Regions from separate parts of the Homo sapiens genome. Here regions 2 and 3 are each linked to region 1. Evidence: promoter capture Hi-C in human tissues and cell types (Jung and others, 2019). All regions are on one chromosome and are shown on one strand. Each heading gives the region's core, a stretch centred on a gene start or on the middle of the fragment in contact. The rest is flanking DNA. Distances are from core to core; before and after follow the strand shown. Region 1 holds the start of C15orf61 (chromosome 15 open reading frame 61). Region 2 overlaps MAP2K5 (mitogen-activated protein kinase kinase 5). Region 3 overlaps MAP2K5 (mitogen-activated protein kinase kinase 5).

Evidence for each region. The method cuts DNA at HindIII sites, captures the fragments that hold promoters and counts their contacts. A contact is called where the count stands out against the background at its distance.
Region 2: a contact is called between a fragment that was not itself captured here and the fragment with the promoter of C15orf61 in region 1, in 1 of the 25 tissues and cell types used here (hippocampus).
Region 3: a fragment that was not itself captured here is called in contact with the fragment with the promoter of C15orf61 in region 1 in 2 of the 25 tissues and cell types used here (hippocampus and mesenchymal stem cells).

The regions. Positions count from the first base shown.
Region 1 is chr15:67,518,463-67,522,934 of GRCh38, reverse strand. C15orf61 (chromosome 15 open reading frame 61) reads right to left here and starts at 1,804. Exons shown (of 2, transcript NM_001143936.2): 1 at 1,341-1,804. The coding sequence starts at 1,686. IQCH-AS1 (IQCH antisense RNA 1) reads left to right here and starts at 1,091. Exons shown (of 6, transcript NR_040052.1): 1 at 1,091-1,416; 2 at 3,833-3,935. RefSeq lists enhancers at 1,378-1,497, 2,138-2,217 and a silencer at 1,608-1,957. The HindIII fragment of the contact is 11,118 bases long and covers 1-4,472 here.
Region 2 is chr15:67,726,786-67,731,257 of GRCh38, reverse strand. MAP2K5 (mitogen-activated protein kinase kinase 5) reads right to left here. Exons shown (of 22, transcript NM_145160.3): 17 at 3,313-3,342. Among named protein-coding and RNA genes, the nearest start is that of SKOR1, 96 kb to the left of the region's middle. The HindIII fragment of the contact is 4,576 bases long and covers 339-4,472 here.
Region 3 is chr15:67,674,861-67,679,332 of GRCh38, reverse strand. All of the region lies in intron 13 of MAP2K5 (mitogen-activated protein kinase kinase 5), which reads right to left. Among named protein-coding and RNA genes, the nearest start is that of MAP2K5, 130 kb to the right of the region's middle. The HindIII fragment of the contact is 6,748 bases long and covers 1-4,472 here.

The DNA of each region.
Region 1 (4,472 bases), core at 555-3,054:
TAAAAGAGAGGCCCCTAATCATTAAGGTGCTCTTAAACAAAATGTCAACACTAAAAATGTGACTTTAAAGGAAAAAAAGGCATTTGGCTCATGGTTTACCTATAACTCTCCCGTTATGCTTTTCCTAACCTATTATTCTTTAGGGAAGAATGATTTCTTACTTATGAAAAATGCTAAAATAAACTTATACTTCTCGAATCTAGTTAACACTCCAGTCTTTCCAAATAATTTCGAATTGAATTTCCTAAGTCACCTCACCCTTCAACTTCAACCAACCTCCAAAGTAGTGGGCATGCTCTATACAGTCCATCAGCCAAATAATAAGAGGCATTTTTAAAGGATAACACGTTGCTAAACAATTATCTCCTTACAGGACAGTCCAGTGGAGTAACGGCTCAAAAAGCCCACGACTGACATATGTGTTATTATAAGCACAAATACACAGACTATTTTTAACCTTAATGGACGATCAGATTATGTAATAGTATTAGTAGTACGGCTGCGCAGGGTTTAGTTTTAATCCTGGCTTTAAAAACCTGGCTGGGTAACATGGTTCATTCAGCTCCATGGCTAGATTTTGAATCACTGAAATCTAGATTGATTTTATGCCAGCTATTAGTAAGTTCAAAACATCTTGAGGCCTTCTGTTTTCCCCTGACCTATAAAAGATACACCCATGTCCATGTTCGTACCTCCCTCTTCTGTCATTAAACCAAAAGAAAATAAACACCTAGTGACAGTAAACATCCTCAGGGCGTCTCCATGAAAATATACAAATATTAAAGATCTTTAAAAATCTTTTAGGCCTAGCACCTCAGGAAGCTGTTATGTCTGGTGAAAACCTTTGGTGCTTTTAGTAAAACGAACTTGCCGGGAATTCATACAAAGAAAACAAAAGAAACTTAAAAGAGTAGTTCCAGTTATTGCAACATAAACGCAGCTGCAAAGTGATGTTCACGGGAATGAGTCCTGCCATGCAGTAGGACGGATGTCAACTTCAGAGCCACTTTCTAGGGGGCGTTTCCTGACGCCCCCTGGCTTACTGCCCAGGCCAGGGGTCTACTCTGGTTAACATGGGCAGGACAGGAGGGCGACCCGCCCCTCCCTAGGCCCGAGGACGCGCCCGCAGCAGGCGAACGGCTTCGGGTGCCAGGAGCTCAGCAAGCTGGGGACCCCCTGGGCGAGGAGTACAAAGGACCCCAGGCGAAGCCGGCGCCGGGAGGCAGAGCTGACTCCCGCGGGACTCTACCGGCCTGCGAGCGTTCGTCACGTGCTCGGTGGCTGAGGGGCCGTCCCGGCCGGGCGGGCTTCACCGCGTGGGCGCGGCAGTCGCCACTCACCGAGGTTGACGACCTTGAGCGCCGTGAAGAAGCGGTTCTGCCGGGCCAGGTCCTGCCAGGGAGCCTTGGAGCAGTGGTACTTGATGAAGGGGAAGCAGCCGGTGCGCAGGACGTGGTAGTTGGCGCCCTGCACCGGCCAGTTGAAGTGCGAGAGGCCGAACTGGTCGTTGCGGACGGCGCTGTAGGGCACGCAGAAGGAGGTCCAGTGCGGCAGGCGCCGCTGCAGCAGATGCCGCGTCAGCACCTCCGAGGCGCTGGGCTTGGGGCGGGCGGCGGCGCGCGAGGCCCACGGCCTACACAGCAGCAGGCGGAGCGCGACCTCGTGGGCCCTCCTCAGGGCCTCCATGGCCCGCCGCGCCGGGGACGCAGGCTGGTGTCCGCAGCCGCTGGCGCGCAAGCGCGCCCCCGGGCGAGCGCCGGGAAGGCCAACCGGCGCCGCGCGGGTGCCCGAGAGCCCCCGGTGTGCGGCGGCGCGTGCGCACAGCGGCCCCGTGGCCTCCCGCTGGGGGTGGAGTCCGGGGGATGGGAAGCGTGAGCTGCGCGAGGCGGAGGGTCACCTGCGTCAAGGAGCTGGTTTTGAGTGGCCAGGTGTGACCTCACGCCGTCATTAGTAACTCGGGCAGGGGAGGGATTCGGGGAGGTCTCATCAATTTGGGCCTGAGGAAAATTCAGGTGGAAGACAATTAAATAACTAACCACCTCCGCAAGGTGCAGAACTCAAACCCAAGTCTCCCTCCCACGCCCTGGGCTCCAGGGAAGCCCTTGGGTGTTGTTGTTGAAACAGGACGAGGCGTGACCCCGGGTCTGCGTTGTTTGGTAAGGCCGGGAGCACTTTTGTGTGTAGGTCCTCGCTGTCGGGTTCACTGTTTAAAATTAGTCCCAGAGATTTCAAAATCAAAAGTTTATTTAAAAACCTCACGTGTCTCAGTGCAGCGTCCGAACACACAAAGGCACCTCCCTCTAAGAACCTGGTAGACGGACCAGGAGCCTCTTATCGAGCTTTGTGGACCTCAGTCACCCATTACCAATCCATTACTTTCGGAAAAGCTTTGCTCAAACTTTGCGGCCTCTTGAGGCAGTAACTTACGGACAAAACTGCTTTTAGAAAAGGATTTCCTCTTTTGTCCTAAACTCATTTTGTTTGGAGAGGCCATACATAAACAAGATGATGTGTCTGAAACCACCTTATGTAAATGAGGTACAGTAATTACGCGTTAAGCATCATATAACAATTACTATCGTTGCTAAAAACTCAAGGGGGATGTAGGATAGTATGGCGAAATTTTATATTCCCCAGTTTTTTGTTTTGTTTTGTTTTGTTTTTTTGAGACGGAGTCTCACTCTGTTGCCCAGGCTGGAGTGCAGTGGTGCAATCTCAGCTCACTGCAACCTCTGCCTCCCAGGTTCAAGTGATTTTCCTGCCTCAGCCTCCCGAGTGGCTGGGATTACAGGCGTGCACCACCACGCCTGGCTAATTTTTGTATTTTTAATAGAGACGGGGTTTCACCATGTTGGCCAGGCTGGTCTCAAACTCATGACCTCGTGATCCACCTGCCTCGGCCTCCCAAAGTGCTGGGATTACAGGCGTGAGCCACTGCACCAGGCCTATTCCCCAGTTTTTATTGAACATTGAGCACCCACCAACATATGCCGAATCTTGAACTTTACCTTACAGAATTTGAAGTTGAACTTTACCTTATAGAACTTGAACTTTATAGAATTTCTTTTTCTTTTCTTTTTTTTAGAAAGGATCTCACTGTTGTCTAGGCTGGAGTGCAGCTGCTCGATCTCGGCTCACTGCAACTTCTGCCTCCTGGGCTCAAGAGATCCTCCCACCCTCAGCCTCCCAAGTAGCTGGGACTGCAGGTGTGTGCCACCTACACTCGGCTGCTTTTTTTGGTATTTTTTGTAGAGGTGGAATTTTGCCATGTTGCCCAGGCTGGTCTTGAACACTTGGGCTCAAGTGATCCGCCCGCCTCGGCCTCCCAAAGTGGTGGGATTACAGGTGTGAGCTTCTGCACCTGACCAAATTAAATTTTGAAAAAGAGTGGAGTCCTTTTTCAAACGAAATCTGTTGAAGGTCCCCAACATATAAAGTTGGTTAAAACTTATGCTTTAGGCCGGGCACGGTGGCTCACGCCTGTAATCCCAGCACTTTGGGAGGCCGAGGCCAGTGGATCATCTGAGGTCAGGAGTCCGAGACCAGCCTGGCCAACATGGCGAAACCCTGTGTCTGCTAAAAATAGAAAAATTAGCCGGGCGTGGTGGCACATGCCTGTAGTCCCAGCTACTCGGGAGGCTGAGGCAGGAGAATCACTTAAACCCAGGAGGCAGAGGTTGCAGTGAGCTGAGATCGTGCCACTGCACTCCAGCCTGAGCGACAGAGCGAGACTCCGTCTCAAAAAAAAACAAAAAAAACAAAAATAACTTATGCTTTATTACTAAGCATAAGTTCAAACTTTTTTTAACTTTTTATTTTACTTATTTTTTAGGCGTGGGTTCTCACTATGTTGCTTAAGCTGGTCCAGAACTCAAGCCAGTCTCTCACTTCAGCCTCTTGAGTCGTTGGGATTACAGAAGCCACCATGTCCAACTGTAAGTTCAAATTTTTTATATTAACTTTATAGATAAAAAACAAAACAATGAAACTTCAGTGTGTTGTTGTCTTGGATTTTCTTTTGTTTTGAGCAGAAAGGGGATTCATTGGAGGAAAATTAGGTAGCCCAAATAGTAAACAAGAAGTCTAGAGAACCAGGCTCAGAAAATGGGAAGGAACGAGGAGAGTCCGAACAGCAAAGACATAGATAAGACCAACAGGAACTAGTCTGGCGAGCATGCCATTGCTGGCCCCACTGCCACAGGACTCTTGATCCTGTTGCTTGCAAAATGTTGAAGCTGGGGGTTGTGGTTGTGAAAGTGGATCCTTTGAATTGAGTTGTTCTTATCCCCAGCTAAAACAGTGGAAAAGCCAGGGGGAGAAAGCACTCAGGACATATGACATTACTTTAGAAATGTAGTTCTCGGCCGGGTCCAGTGACTCACGCCTGTAATCCTAGCACTTTGGGAGGCTGAGGCGGGCGGATCACGAGGTCAGGAGATCAAGACCATCCTGGCTAACACGGTGAAACCCTG
Region 2 (4,472 bases), core at 1,377-3,876, 210 kb before region 1:
CTGCTAATGATGCTGTCAGCAGCACTGACACTGAGCTGGGGGAAAGACAAGTCTTGAAGCCGGCCCCTCCTCCCCACTTTACCCTCTGCTCATTTTATACTCTGCTCCAATTGTGGCTGGCATGTTGCTAAGAACATCCTTTTACAACCTATGATTGATAGCTGGGAAATTCTGTTTTGTGCTGCAGCCCAACATCTGATCCAGATGGGTGGCCCTTTGTACTTTTCAGAGTGGTTTCATATCCATAGTCTCATTTGATCAGCATACCTCCTTTAATCAGATAGAAGAGGTAGGCATTAGAATCCTCATTTTAGAGATGAGGAAACTGACACCTCAGAGTTACAAAGCAACAATTAAGACCTGCAGTGAGACTGTGGTAGCACCTAATTCTAATTCTAATACTCTGGCTCATGGTCCAGGGCTCCTTCCAATAGGCCACTCCTCTCAATTTGCCACTAGTGAAGACAACTCAGGTCTGGTGCCCTGATTAGACTTTAGGTTCACAGCAGCAATTCCCTGGCACTGTCCCTAGTCCTAGGAACAATCAAACCAATGTGATCTTAAGGATATATGAAAGGCTCTCATGTGTTCTAGGATCAGACTAGTGAGTGACACTTAGGATGAGATAGTTCTCAGCTTGATAAATAGAACACTGCTTTGACCCTGTGGATGCTTTGTAAGATAGTGAGTTTCTTGTCACTGGAAGTGTTCAAGCAGTGTGGATGTTTGCTTTTCAGAGACATTGTAGAGAAGTTTGATTTGATGATGTCTAAGATCCCTTCCAACTCTAAGAGTCTATGATTCACTCCTGCCTACTGCACTTGGGATTCAAAGAAACCAAACCAGTCACAGTTTTAACAGTGAGCAAATCAGCCATTCTGTTTGTCCAATTTATGAGGGGAGGCTATTTCACAGAGTGGTAGGAGTTCAAATGACATAACGTGGGCCAAAGAGAAGGTGTTATTCCATAACTCAGCCTCAGTGACACTATAAAAATACACATTTTTCTTCATGTGCTTTTTTTGAGGGCATAAGGGAGGGGTAGGAAAGGCATTTATAAAGTATCCTTTCCCAATCTTCAGCTTATAGTACAAAGCCTGTAAAATAAATGCCAACTCCACCAAAAGTCATTAGTGGTTCTAGCAACGACGCACCCCAACTTCTGTTGAAAAACTTAGGAAATAGGCCTAACGGCATCAAAGCTGCTTCTATTATTTCAGATAGAAGTAACAATTTGGTGACAACATTCTATCATGATTCAAGGAATACAGTTGTTTCCCGCCCCAACTCTGGTATAAAGGTTGTTGCTAACTAGGGAGTTCAGCATAGTATTAGAATTTTCCAACTTCCACTTGACTGATCAAGTAAAGATATATTTAGACATTCAGGAAAACCATACTGCAAAGGTAAATAGCCTCTTCTCAAATTTGACCACAGCTTTCATGTGCTTCACTTGTCAAATGTGGCAGTAATCCATTTCTTTTTTTTGTTTTTGAGACGGAATCTTGCTCTGTTGCCCAGGCTGGAGTGCAGTGGCGTGATCTCGGCTCACTGCAAGCTCCACCTCCCGGGTTCAAGCCATTCTCCTGCCTCAGCAGGGACTACAGGTGCCCGCCACCACGCCCGGCTAATTTTTTTTTTTTGTATTTTTAGTAGAGACGGGGTTTCACCATGTTAGCCAGGATGGTCTCAATCTCCTGACCTCGTGATCCGCCCACCTCGGCCTCCCAAAGTGCTGGGATTACAGGCGTAAGCCACTGCACCTGGCCATGGCAAAATCCATTTCTTAGACTCATCACCCATCAAATCTCACTGATTAACTACTCTAGACATTAGGAATCTCAAGAATATTGCTACATTCTCAACCTTTGGAATTTTTACTGGATGGCTTATAAGTTTTCTACTAAGATTTGTTTGAGAAATATACTGCATAGGGCTTGTGAGTTCACTTTCAAAATTTTAGGGGATTTCACAAATTGGCCAAGCTGAATTGTTTAGAAATTACTGACAGAATAAGAAGCTTACCAAGATAAATATTCTAATGAGCTATAAATCCTGAAAATGTAATTTTAATTTGATGGGTTACCTAGAGCTAAGCAGCAAGGCTATATACACTAAAATCTCACTAAATGCCAGCATTCATGCCAAGCAACTGCATTTTAGATTTTCTCTATAAGGAAAAGATTACATTTAAACAAAAAAGTCTATGAATTTGAAAAGTGAGACTAACACTCTTGAACCTAACAACTTGGACGATTTCTCTTCCACTTATCTGATGGCTTTAACTATGAAAGCAAAAGAATACGAAAGAGACATTTCATTGAGTAAAGGGTCTTTAAATGTCCACATTGGTACCAGGAGAATTTGCTTAAAACTGCTTATAAAGATGGTAGAGAGAATGAGCCCCATCCTATTATTCAATAACCATGTTTGTGATGCATCTGCATAATCTAACCATGCATAAATTAGTATGTGTAATACAACACTTATTTGCATAATAATAGCAAGTTAATAGATGCTTAAAGAGCAGAGACCAACACCACCTTTAAATCAGACATGCCTCTAGGCACTTTGGCCTGTACAGACCAAGATGCCAGAAAAACAGTGAACATCAACCAGAGGAAAACAGTCAAACCATTCATTTTTCATCCCTCTAGACATTTCACTTATTTCCCCCACAAACTGGGGAATCATTTTCAAACCACAAAATAGCTTTCTATTTTAGTGCTGGTACCCTTCTATAATAAAAATCTTAAAGAAATTTTAATAAAGATTAGAGTCAGCAATGCTACTATAATGGACTGTTTTGTTTCCTTACAAATGTAGACAGGAGGGAGCAAAATATTTTTAAATAATATGTTCAAAATTACACTCATAAAATTGGGGGCCTATATATTTGCCTAGCAAAAATAATGACCTAGATTAGATGCTTTCACCCTTTGTCTTAATCTTTTAACTCAAAAAATTTTAAGTGAATTTAAGAGCTTAAAAAGTGTATCAAGAAAAAGCTGGCTCTCTCCTCCAACCTCAAAATGAGTACATGGTATTGGACCAGGAAAAAAAACAATCCCGAATGTCACACAAAGGAAAAGCACAATGATCACTCTCAACCTTTAACAAGAAGAAAAAATCAGGAGTTTAAAAAAATCAAAAATCAATAGAGATTTCTAAATGAACCCTTTAAGATACCACTTTTCAATTTAACAGGACAGATTTATTTGTATGTGGCTCAAATGTTCACAATTGCTCCCTGCACCTTCATACATAGGAATGAATGTCACAGTGGCAAACAGCAGTAATGAACAATCTTACCTGAGGATATGGAAACCTCCCAAGAGCAAGCTGGGAAAGGAAATAATATTTGTCTAGTTATAGATTTGCATGCAGGGCAGATCTCCTTAAGACAGACAAGTACTAAATTTCAGAACTGCATCCAGCAAATATAAAAAAGTTCACAACCTTGAATGTACAAACTAAATTATTGCTGTAATTACATTAAGAGCTGTATTTAGAATGGACATTTTCAATGGACGATGTTGCACCCCTGATAAAATATTTTAATTTTAATAACAAAACATTATCCTTATGTGGTTTCCCTTAGTAATATTCTCAGCTATATGGGCATTATTCACATTTACGTGTGTGTGACAGTTTCTTCTAGACAGAGATGTAAAAACTCTTTGCTTTTAGTCTTGTAAAATGGGAACATCTAATTGTTACTAACCCACAAAATTTTCAGTTACAAGTATAAATGGAGGGTAGTAGGAAGTGGGGAATGGACATTATTATGAAATTGAAAACTGCGCCATTATTTTCATCCATTTGTTAAAGTTTTTTCATCCATTTTCTACCCACTAGTGGGAAAAATGGCCATTTCAAGGTTGTGAAGTCAGAACTGTAGGTCTAAGTCTGAAAGCTTCCAATCTAACTTGATTTGTAAACTGCTCTGTTTCTGAGCCAGTCACTTAATTTTGATCCTTGAATCCTCACCTGTAAAAACAAAATGATCCAACCAGGAATAGGCTTGATATAAAGCAAAAAGATATAAACTGTTTTTTGAGCCAGAGTCTTGCTCTGTCACCCAGACTGGAGTGCAGTGGCGTGATCTCGGCTCACTGCAACCTCTGCCTCCTGGGTTCAAGTGATTCTCTTGTCTCAGCCTCCCAAGGTAGCTGGGATTACAGGCGCACACCATCATGCCCAGCTAATTTTTGTATTTTTAGTAGAGATGGGGTTTCACCATGTTGGCCAGGCTGGTCTTGAGCTCCTGACCTCAAGTGATCTGCCTGGCTTGGCCTCCCAAAGTGCTGGGATTACAGGGCTAAGCCATTGAACCTGGCCAAAAAGATAAAATTTAACAAACATACAAAAACCTATTTAAAGAAAATAGTGGCAAAACTTTGCAATTTTATAATGTGGCCAATCCTCAGTCCTGACATCATTTACATGTATTTGTAATTACTTTCAAAGCA
Region 3 (4,472 bases), core at 1-2,500, 160 kb before region 1:
GCCACCCATAACTGCCTCACGCAGGAAACTGTATCTTTACACATTCTGCATCAATTAGCCATTAAACAATCCACATAAACAGCATCAAGCAGAAGCTTGCTAATAAAGGCCAGAGCCTCAAGAGCATGTGCTTTCCCAACATCTTCACAAAAGGGCTCCTCCGCCCACTGCCCAGCCCCTGCCCCCAGCACAATCAGGGGTCAGGGTGGGAGGTTACCCTTGGCTAGGATCTGGCTGGGTGCCGAGGGGGCTGTTCAAAACAAATAAAAGCTCCTTCACAAAACTACAGTTGGAGTTACTTAATGTGCTTTGTATAGGGACCCAAACGGTAATTTCCTTGTAAGATTAGTTCTTTTTTTTTTTTTTTTTTGAGATGCAGTGTCACTCGGTTGCCAGGCTGGAGTGCAGTGGCACGATCTCACCTCACTGCAACCTCCGACTCTCAGGTGCAAGCAATTCTCCTGCCTCAGCCTCCTGAGTAGCTGGGACTACAGGTGCTCACCACCATGCCCCGCTAATTTTTGTATTTTTAGTAGAGATGGGGTTTCTCCATATTGGCCAGGCTGGTCTCAAACTACTGACCTCATGATCCTACCGCCTCGGCTTCCCAAAGTGTTGGGATTACAGGCGTGAGCCACTGTGCCCGGTGTCTGGTAAGATCAGTTCTAAAGAAAATTGTGATTTTTGTATCAGCTATATGCTTTCTTTTGCCAGAAAAGAAAAACCATACCAATTGAGGATTCCCTTTTTGTTGTGACCTATTCACATCAGGTGCTGTTGGTATCTCCAACTTCTACTTCCTTTTGGTCTTTGTTTCATATTTAAACATTTAATTTGCTCTGAACTTTTACATGTCTCACTGAATGCTCTTAGAAACAGGCATGGTACAATTGTTACAGAAACATTTTTAAATGTGGCATGTGGCTGTTGTGGGATGACAATGGAGGCAGAAATAAACTTCTCTTCAACTTTTTCCCCCTATAAAGCAATTACACTGTGTGAATACCAGGAAGCCACTCTCAGTTTACCAGGAGCCAGAGGGCACATTAGCCGGTCTCCACTCCTAGCAACCTCTCCTAGCACTGTGCCTGGGATCTTCAGCAATGCTCTTTCATTATGTTTAATTGTCTTATGAAAAGAAAAAAAACAATATATCTATCTAGTTATTTATTGGGGACTGCATTCTAATGAATGAGAACAGCAGGTACAATTAAGTATAGACTATGCTGACGTTCTGCATTACAAATTCATCTGTGCACAACGGGAACATACTTAAGAGAAAACCACATTGCAATATAAAAGTTATTCTAATGACTCCATCACATAAGAAAGGGTAGGTCATCCAAATATTCTTGCAAAGGCCTTAAATAAAATTAAACAGCATAATTAGCCATCCTCAATGGCAGTTATTGCCTGGAGTCTCATGATTCGGTTCAGAATGGAGGCAACAAACGTGCCCTTTCCTTCTTCAATAAAGGCAGGGTACCTGGGACACTTACAAGATTAATAACAAGGGCAAAAAGGCCTGAGCTTCTCAATTCTCCCTCTCTTAATCCTTTCATAGTAAGTAAAAGAGATTTCCTTCTAAAGTGGTGAATCTTAGATTCCTACCTGTGATGTGTACATATTCTGGTCAGTGTTTAGGAAAAGCCAGGTCTGGAGGAATGTGTTCCTGCACAACCTACTTCCCCAAGTCTAAGATACCACTGACTGTTAAGACTCCTCTTGACTATAAAACATTTTTGGGGAAAAAGGAAAGAAAACAAAGGAATACCACATTATATGCATAAATAAGATGTAAGACAGCAGACTTGACTTGGAGCGGTGTGTCCCGAAGACTAATCCTGGTAATTTGTTTTAAAGAAATAACAAAAAATTATGGTAGATAACACTTACTTGGCACTTAATATATACCAGGAACTGGGCTAAGTGCATTATTATCATATGCATTACCTCATTTAATTCTCATTGTAACCCTTGAGATAGGTACTATTATTAACCCCATTTTACAGAGGAGGAAATTGAGGTTCAAATTAATGAAATTACTTGCCCAAGGACACAAAACTAGAGGCTTCGACTAGTAAAGCTCTTAAGCCTTAACAAACTGCATTATATTTATGAGCTAAATCTTATTGGAACTAATAGGATGGATTATCCCAGCTTTGGCAGTGAATAGTTGGGTGATCTTGGGAAGTTCACAAAGAAAATAGCCCAGATGTTTTAAGTTCTTTATACTCACAGGCTAATTTTCTAAGAAAAGGAGATGTTAACAGGAAAGTGTGAGGAACGTTCTAACTATTCCCTCTCATTTAACCTCTTGCTTCTTTTCTTGAGAAATAATTATTTGACATAATAATAGCTGTTATATGCCAGGTACAATGCTATGACCTCAAAGAAGTTAAGAAGCTGACCCAAGGTCACATAGCTAAGATGAATTAAGAGGAAGAACCAGAACTTAAACCTGGGTCTGACCCTCATACTAGAGCTTTTCCATTAGGCCACCAACCACTTTCCTATGACTTTTTCCTATGACTTTTCCTATAACTAAGCAAGTTTTTTAGGCTGCTTGAGCCTTGATTGCTTCACCTAAGAATGGAGATACAATGATACCTCCTCACAAGGTTATTATAACAATTAAATAAAATTATACATACAAGAGAGCTAACACTGTAGCACATACAAGGTACTCAATAAATGATATTAGGAAAATGATTAATATTGTTATCATTATGATTGTACCCAATCCAGAAGGAACTTAATCTTCCACCAGCAAAAGAGTAGATTTGATTTCCATGGTGCTGATCACCTTCAACCATGCCTTTAGAGAAAGGAAGAGACATGGAGAGCTCTTCCAACTGCTAAAGCTGTCTGTCCATTCTGCTTGGCAAAATGTCCCAAGGATAAATCTCTTACTTTAATACGAGAAAGGGGAACAAAAGATGACTTCCAATTTAGCCACATTATAAAAAGTTCCAGGAGAAAAACACTGCCCTCAGAAAATTATGATTCAATGTATTCATCCAACAAATATCCACTGGCATACAATCAATGCCATAAACTCCTCTACCAACAGAAATGACCCTGTCATTCATCATACAGGTGCTCTCTCTCTCCCTCTGATAAGCTCCTAAACTTCAGGTTTGTGTCAGAGACAAAGCAATGATCAGAGCTAACTGCGGGGCTTGGTGAATCAAACACTCATCCACACACTGGGGGCATCTTGCTGGGTGGTTGGATAGAAGCTTACCCTAATGGATACTATAGAGACTGGTGAGCCAAAACACACAACGATCACACAGTCTGCTTCAAATCCCAATCCCCTGCAAGTCAGAAGGCTTTTAGAGGTGGGGACTGGGGAAATAACTATCCTCTTCCATTTGCATTTGTTCCTTGAATGACACACGACGTCTTTCCTTATTTCTCCTCTAAGGCTTCCATTGATACTCATTTTCAGAATGGAAGAGGGTAATTTCCCTCTTACTGATTTCCTAAAAGGGATGACTCTGCCTATGATCAAATCCTACCACAGAAGCATGGGAGAGAGAAAAACTAAGTCCAGGACAACCTTCTCTGATTAAGCTGACCTTCTGAATACAGGTAACTACAGAAAGATGATATATTCTTTTTTTGTTGTTTACATTAAGCTTTTAATTTTGAGATAACTATAGATTTACACAGTTATCTCAAAGTTTACATTTACAATGGTAAGAAATAATACAGAGACATCCTGTGTACACTCCACCCAGTTTCCCCTAATGGTAACATCTTATAAAACTGTAGTATAGTATCACAACCAGGGTATTGACACTGATAGTCAAGATGGAGAACATTTCCATCACCATGAGGATTCCTCATCTTGCTCCATTGTAAACATTCCCTCTGTCTCCCATCCTCTCAGCCCCTGGTAACCACTAATGTGCTCTCTCCATTTCTATAATTTTGTCATCTCAAGAATATTATACAAATGGAATCATACACTATGTAACCTTTGTGACTGGCTTTTTCACTCAGTATAATGATCTGGAGGTTCATCTAGGTTGTGGGCATCAACAGTTCGCTCCTTTCTATTGCTGAGCAGTAATCCATGGTATGAATGCCCACAGCTTGCTTAACCATTCACCTGTTGAAGGACATCTGAGTTGTTTCCAGTTTTTGGCTATGATGAATAGAGCTGCAATAAACACTTGCGTACAGGTTTTTGTGTGAACAGAAGTCTTCATTTCTCTGGGATAAATGCCCAGGAATGCAATTGCTGGGTCATACGGTAGTGGCATGTCTAGCTTTCTTTCTCTTTTTTTTAAATGTCAGCAGTGGGGCTGTATCATTTTACATTCCTACCAGCAATGTATTAGTGATCCAATTTTCTGCATCCTCATTTGCTATTGTTACTATTTTTTATTTTAGCCATTCTGATAGGTATATAGTAATATCTCATGGTGGTTTTAATTTGCATTTCCCTAAAGCCTAATGAT